Regions from separate parts of the Homo sapiens genome. Here region 1 is linked to region 2. The links are contacts of gene promoters, found by promoter capture Hi-C in human tissues and cell types (Jung and others, 2019). All regions are on one chromosome and are shown on one strand. The core of a region is centred on a gene start or on the middle of the fragment in contact, and the rest is flanking DNA. Distances in the headings are between cores, read along the strand shown.

The links. Contacts are between HindIII fragments. The study calls those that stand out against the background at their distance.
Region 1: a fragment that was not itself captured here is called in contact with the fragment with the promoter of PLEKHD1 in region 2 in 1 of the 25 tissues and cell types used here (lymphoblastoid cells).

Annotation. Positions count from the first base shown.
Region 1 is chr14:69,117,364-69,121,160 of GRCh38, forward strand. It overlaps DCAF5 (DDB1 and CUL4 associated factor 5), which reads right to left. Exons shown (of 9, transcript NM_003861.3): 3 at 1,831-1,867; 4 at 776-915. Among named protein-coding and RNA genes, the nearest start is that of DCAF5, 34 kb to the right of the region's middle. The HindIII fragment of the contact is 7,416 bases long and covers 1-3,797 here.
Region 2 is chr14:69,482,604-69,486,247 of GRCh38, forward strand. It overlaps PLEKHD1 (pleckstrin homology and coiled-coil domain containing D1), which reads left to right and starts at 2,125. Exons shown (of 13, transcript NM_001161498.2): 1 at 2,125-2,511. The coding sequence starts at 2,363. The HindIII fragment of the contact is 9,868 bases long and covers 1-3,644 here.

The sequences.
Region 1 (3,797 bases), core at 208-2,707, 370 kb before region 2:
CACAGCCCAGAATGTAAAATGTTTAGAACATAGAAAAGTTAAAAGACCCAGATCCTGCCAGACAGAGCAGGCAGGATAGTAAATTTAGGTACACAGCTGTGATCATTACAATCTGCACTAAAGGCCACGGTGGGTATGGCAGTGGCACTAAGGCTGGTACTAGAGGAAGGGGCCTTTTGAAGACAGGTAGAATTACAGAAATCTCTCTGTAGGAAATGAGCTGAGAAGATGCATTTCCTGAAGAACTTCAGAGAAAGTCAACAAAGCAACTTCTTCATTTCACACATCAGAGAGTCAAAGGGCACATTCAGAGGAGGCACTCACACGACAATCCCCTTTAAACAGAGTTTATTTGCCATCATTTTAAGATCCTATACACAGGTAATTTGAGATTCGGTGGTTCTTTCAACAAAATAACAAGCCTGAAACTAGGATGCAGGAAAGTGCATAACGCCCCCATTCTCTGTAAATAATCAAGAATAGTTACATGTCAGCACCACAACTTCTGCTCCTTGGGGCACTAAACACCAAAGTACAAGGGTTTGTGGAGAGTCACAGGAGGGTGGAGAAGGACTGGCAAAGGTGCCTCACTCCTGAGTATTTAGGTGGAGGATAAGGCCTCCAAAGACCTCTTATGCCCCCATGTGAGTGTTTCACATTTCCTTTCCCTTGACATCACTTGCACATAGATACTGAGGTAATAAATTGGATCTTCAATGAATCTGACATCAAACTGTTCAACACAGTCCAACAGTCATTTGCACAGTGAGCCTACCTCCATGGGGGGATTCCCGAATGTCCCAAATGAGAACCCGGCCATCATCTGAGGAACTGGCAAAAATGTTGTCATTCACTGGGCTCACAGACAAGCCATATACTGCATCTTCATGAGCAAACACGTCCAATGTCTCACTGCTGGGAGATAAGAGAGCAAGACAGAGGCACACACATACACACAAGCATAGTGCAGAGTCCCAGCACTTTGGTACCGAGGGTGCCATCTTTTCCATTTCTAGAAGAAAGTCAACCTAGCTAAACCCAAAAAATATTATATTTCCTGAAAGGTAGGTAGTCAACTTTCAGGTTAAAAAAAAGGTACTATTAAGGAGTCTTTTTAGAGATTTTATAATTTTTGTGCTAAATAAGCATATTTAAAAGTGACTCAATAGCTGAGTTTTGTATTTTCATTTATTACAGAATGCATCTGCTTGTGTACAGATTTGGGGGTCATACTTGATTTTCAAAAAGCAAGGGAAAGCTTTAAAGCAGCCAAGTCTGATGCCTACAGGATGGGAGAGGGGTCTCCTAGCAATCTGGCATGGTGATGAAGAGCATGGCTCTGAGGCCAGATAGCCTAAGTTCAGGTTTTAGTACCACCTGACCTTCTGTTATCTAACATGTCTGTGACTCCGTTTCCTGATCTAGAACGGAGATGACAATAGTATCTCCTCAGAAAATGAGTGTGAGGATTAAATGAATGAATATGTACAAAGCATTTACAATGGTGTCTGGCACATAGTAAGAACTCAATCAATATTAGCTATTACTGTTCTTAAATATTATGGTTCCTTCTCTTCTAAACTCTTGTTTTAAATTTTCACCTAAAAAGTACACTCTCATACCAACTTTCAAAACTTTCAAATCCCTTTTTCCTTTTTAAATCAAAACTTTATTTATTTCAAACTATTGTAGGAATTTTTTTAGAAAAGAACAGCTGGTTTCATGTTGTTTTTTTCAAAAAACAAAAACTATTTTAGTCTAAAGAGATATTTGCCTCTTCATATATGAAAAACAAAGTCAATCACCTTCACACACCACCAATCTATTTACCTTTCAACATCATGGAGGATAACTTGCTCATCATTGCCTGCAAAAGAAAAAAGCAGACATCTGATCATTCGTGCAAGGTGGTCCCTGTCCACATTACAATTTAGTATTTTTAAGTTTTCAGGGAAAAAATATGAACAAAGCCAATGCTAATACAAATTAGAAGTGTTAACTGGAAAAAAGATTTATAGAAATAATTTAAGAAGGATAGGACATTCTTACAGAGAATTTTTAAAAAATAATGGCATCCAAGTATAACACAGTAACAGTTCCCAATGTGTATTATCCAGTGGATGATGTAAAAAAAAAAAACAACTGTGGCTACAACCTGGGCAACATAGTTAGACTCCATCTCTATGAAAATAAAAATAAAAAAATTAGCCAACTGGTGGCACACCCTTGAAGTCCCAGCTACTAAGGAGGCTGAGGTGGAAGAATCGCTTGAGGTCAGGAGTTCAAGGCTGCAGTGAGCTACGATCGCACTCCAGCCTGGGCAACAGAGAGAGACTGTCTCAAAAAAAAAAAAAAAGTAGGGGGGAAACAACACAAAACAAAACTGTGGCCATCAAGAAAAACACTAAATGATCATTGACAAATCAATTCACTAGCTTTATTTTTTTTCTTTTTCAGCAGAACACTCACTAATCATGAGACCTGCAATAAAATCTTTAGCATTTCTATGACCTAACTTTTTAACCTACAGAATAGGGATAATAACATCATAGAGTAACTGTAAGCATAAGAGTACATCTGTAAAAGCATTCAGAATAGGGCTGATCACTTAATAAGCCCCCAATAAATGTTTGTTAATATTTCTATCCTCATGGTCTTTTAAAAATGTTTCTTTCTTTCTTTCTTTTGAGACAGGATCTTGCTCTGTTTGTCTTTTAAAAATTTTTCTTCTTTCTTTCGAGACAGGATCCTGCTCTGTTGTCCAGGCTGGAGTGCAGTGGTGCAATCATGGTTCACTACAGTCTTGACCTCCTGTGCTCAAGCAATCTTCCCACCTCTGCCTCTCTAGTAGCTGGAACTACAGGCATGTGTCACTATGCCTGGCTAATTAAAAAAAAAATTTTTTTTGTAGAGATCTAACATGTTGGGGTCTAACTATGTTGCCCAGGCTGGTCTCAAACTCCTGGGCTCAAGCAATCCTCCTGCCTTGGCCTCTCAAAGTGTTGGGATTATTACAAGTGTGAGCCACCATGCCCAGCCTCATCATCTTTTATAGCATGAAAATTTGATGACTGTGATTCCAAATGATGTGAAAGTTTTAATCTTGTATTTCTCCTTATTCTATCAAAGGATATAAATTATATTCATGATATGTGTAGTCCTGCCTTCAAATGGTTTGTATAGCAAAAAAATTAAAACCTGAATATAAGAAGACAAAACATGAAAAAAGTCCCACTCTATGCTAAAATGCACAACCAACAGTCACTTAAATAGAAAGCAAAAGTAGCAGTAAAGATATGGCCCAGGGCATCTTAAACAAAGGCCTGGCTGTAAATTCTACTGTAGGTACAAACCAATGAAATCAGTAAACCCATACTAATGCCTTCTAGGTATCAGGTACAGTGCTAGGTCTTGGGTATATAAAAAGAATAAGATTCTACTCTGTCCTTGAGAACTCCAATTGGACTTGAGAACAGTCCAACTGGACAAACAACTAACAGCAACAAGAGGGTTTGCCTTGCAGCAATATGATCTAGCTATGGGGTCAATTATTTCCTTCATAAGCAGGGTGAAAGTACATGGAGAAGGAGACCTTTGAAGAGAAACTCAAATAACTCAAAACTCTTACCAATGAAAGGCTTAGGGGAATTGGTGGGGACTGGACAATTAAGGTGGAAGAACACCATGAACAAAAGGCACAAGGGCAAAATAGTACCATGCAGTGCATTCTTAAAATGACAAATAGTTTGGTGGGCTACAGTGTATAACTCAGGGAAGGGAGGTCAGGCCAGACAGAT
Region 2 (3,644 bases), core at 875-3,374:
AGCACACAGCTGTCACCCAAGGCACGTCAGATGCATGTGCCACCATGTTCCCTTGAAAAGTGCAAGCCTGTGTATGCTTTTTCCTCACATTTGTTACCTGCAACTCAAAGTCAGGGGCCCTTGACTGGTGAACTCCAGACCACAGGCTCCTAACACAAGTTTTCTAGCTTTCATCTTAGAAAAGCAGGACACCTGTAATCCCAGCATTTTGGGAGGCTGAGGTGGGAAGATCACTTGTGGCCAGGAATTCAAGACCAGCCTGGGCAACATAATGAGACCCCCATCTCTCTAAAAAAAAAAAAAGAAAGAAAGAAAAAAAGAAAGAAAGAAAAAAGAAAGAAAAGAAAAGCAGGGCTCCTAAAGTGGGAAGATTTCCAAGCATTAGACCATGTGTCAGAAATAGACAAAAAATATACAGAAAATGTCCACTTTGTACTCTGGCCCCGGGCTCTCATCATCTTCCCAGTCCCACCTCCTCCCACCTGATGGAGCCAAGCCCCGGGCCCTGTGTTAAGGCTTGGCCTGAGATGTTCTGCATGGGGGCCTGAGCCATGAGAGAAGTGCAAGGAATTCAGATGGGCACTTCTTGACAGTGAGCAACAAGGGGATGCTGTCTGAGCTTGGGAACCCCAGAGGGGGTTAAGGGAAGAGTACCAGGGTGATGATTAGCTAGAGTCATAAAATGGGGAGATCTAGCATGGCCTTGGGGAACATCTAGTGGGCGTCACACATCCAAATGCCTGCAGAGGGGCCAGGCAGGTCAGACAATAGGGGATGATGGGGCCTGTGGGGATGCGCCTTTAGGCATTACATTCAAAGACTTAAGTCTACTGTGCAGAGGTGGTAAGAATGATACAAGTGGTTGTTGTTGGGGGGCTGATTGACTATAAAGGGGCATGAAGAAACTTTCTGCAGGTGATGGAAATGTTCTGTCTGTTGCTTTGGGTGGGGTTACATCTTATATACCTTCATCAAAGAAATAACTTAGATGTGTGCATTTTACCATGAAGTATACCTCAATTTAAAAACTTGGGGCAAATTCATAAAGCAATGTGGATCTGGCTCTCGGGCTAACCATTTGTAAACTTCTGTTGCAATCCGACTTCCAGAGGCGTCCTTGGCTCCTCATCTTGGAAAAGCGCGACTGCGGCGTGGTCTGGCGGGCGGCCGCTCACTGCGCGGTCTCCACGCCTGGCAGGTGGCGCGGGGCAGGCAGCTGTGCCAGCCTAGCATTTCCACCTGCCGGGAGGAGGCGGTCCCCTGGGGCCCGGCCGGCATCTCCCTGGCCTGAAAATGAGCCGGTCACCCCAAACGCCAACTCCGAAAGGAGCGGAAGCGGATGGAACAGCTGGTCCCAGGGAGCGCGGGCCAGGCGCGCAGATAAATCACGGACACACACTGCACGGATAGCTCCAGACTGGCGTTGAGTGCCAAATGCCGACACAGACACGGTCAGGTTCCAGGAAGAGAAATCCGATCCGATGCGCGCTAGGCGGCGGCGGCGGAGCACAGTGAAACCCACCTGAGGGGGAAGGGTTGGGGGGAACCCAATCTTGATGGAGCCCCTCCCCATGCGGGCACTTTGGGCACTTCCTGAAGTCCTACCTGGCCACCCGCCTGCCCGGGGCATCAGGCATCGCCACTTCACTGGGGAGAAAAGCCAGACCGCCGCAGTTCACGGAGCGGTAGGAATTGCGGTGGAATTCCAGGCCGGAGTGTGTGACCCTACGCCCTAGCTCCGTCCTCTCCTCCACCCCGAGGCGAGCAGGTGTCTGCAGGAGTGCCTCCAACCCCATTGCAAAGCGGACGTGGCCCTCGTCTCGATGTCGGCGCTGCTCGCCGAGAGGGACCCCGGGGTGGTGTTGGGCGCGCGGGGCGGGGACGGGGACGCGCTGCGGCCAAGTCCCCGGGCCCTGCGACCCGCAGGGACCTTCTGGACGCACGGAGCCCGGCCCTCCAGCCGGCGCCCGCCCTGATTGGCGCCCGAGGCCGGCCTCCCGCCGGCTCACCTGCCACTCCCAGCCAATCGGGGCCACCAGAATTGGGGCTGTCGCCGGGGGGGTGGGTGGCTAGGGCGGGAGGGGAGGAGATGCTGCCGGCCCGAGGCTGAGCCACCCTCCCCGCGGAGTTCCCGCCCGGCCCTCTGCAATCCGGAGCCCAAGCCGCCGGCTACGCGCCCTGCGCCCCCTTGGTGCCGCGTCCAGTGCCCAGCGCGCTTTGATGCTGCAGCTCCGGGCCGGGCCGCTCTGCTTCTCTGCTCGCTGGGACGCTCTCCGACGGCTCCGCCCTCGCCTCTCGCCCCGAGTCCCTGCTGACCCCGGGGAGGTGGGGTCCGGGCCGGGCACAGCCCCGCTGAGGCAGGATGTTCACGTCCAAGTCCAACTCGGTGTCGCCCTCGCCGTCCCTGGAGCAGGCTGACTCGGACGCCCTGGATATCAGCACCAAAGTGCAGCTCTACGGCGTGCTGTGGAAGAGGCCTTTCGGCAGGCCGTCGGCCAAGTGGTCCCGGCGGTGAGTGCGCCCCCGCGCCCCAAGGAGACCGCCGGGGAGAGAGCCTGGGCGTCGTTACCCCTCCCACCCCCTCCAGTCGCCGTCGTGCCTCTGCTTTCCTGTGTGACCTTGGCGTCACCCCTTTTCACTCTACACTGGCTCCCGCAGGAAAATGTGGACCATAGTCTGGGCCGGGAGAATGGAGATGGGGCCCCTGCCCTGGGGCGGTGGCAAATTCTCTATGGAATGAACCTGACCCTCGAGTGGGAATGTTGGGTGTGGGCAGAAGAGACCGTGGTCGGGGTGGGATCCCAGCTAGGTCAGATCAGGCCAGACTGAGGGGAGGCAGAAACTCCATCTCTAGCCAAAGATGCCCCCAACCCCGGGACCCCCACTGTCAATTCCATCGTCTTCACAACCCCTGACCCAGGCCGCGAGGACCGGGCCTGAGTGTCTCCCTCCCGCCAACCACCCACCCTTAAGACGGAGAGGGACCTGGCCCTTCTGAAAGGCTCAGGCTAAGGAGGGAGGAAGGGCCAGGAAGGGTGCTTGTCCATGGGGAAGTGACCTTGGCAACCCCTCCAACTGTCCCTTGAAATAATTTTTTTAAAAGTGAGCACAGGGAAGAGAGATTCTAGTGCTTCAGACGGAGGAGCTGGAAAGGAGGGAGGCAGCTGGAGTGAAGGAGGGGATAGATTGGTTCTGCCAAGGATTGATCCTCTGAAAGGGGTGGTGGAGAGAGACAGGGTAGTCCCAACCATCCTTCAGCCCCAGCTGCCTGGTCCCCAACTCAGACGCGACTCCGCGGACATCGGTAGCCACTCTCCACTTACAAATTAGCCTGGGAGGTATTGAGGGAAGAGGGAGTTCACAGCCCTGGACTTGCAGGAAGCTCCCAACTGGCTGCAGGTGCTGTGGGCCATTTTCTGGACAGTTTCCACTCTCCAGTCAATTTCAGTTCTGAGATTCACTACTGGTATGGCCTGGAGAATGCAGACCCTGTCCAGCCCTTCCGCGGAGGTGTGACCCTTCCAGGAAACCAGGGGTATCCAGATGCCCCTTCCCCATCCCACACTCTATGAGTCTGCCCCTGAGCAGAGGGGGCCTCCAATGTTCCCAGGACCACAGATCATGTGGATGTGGTAGTGGTGGGT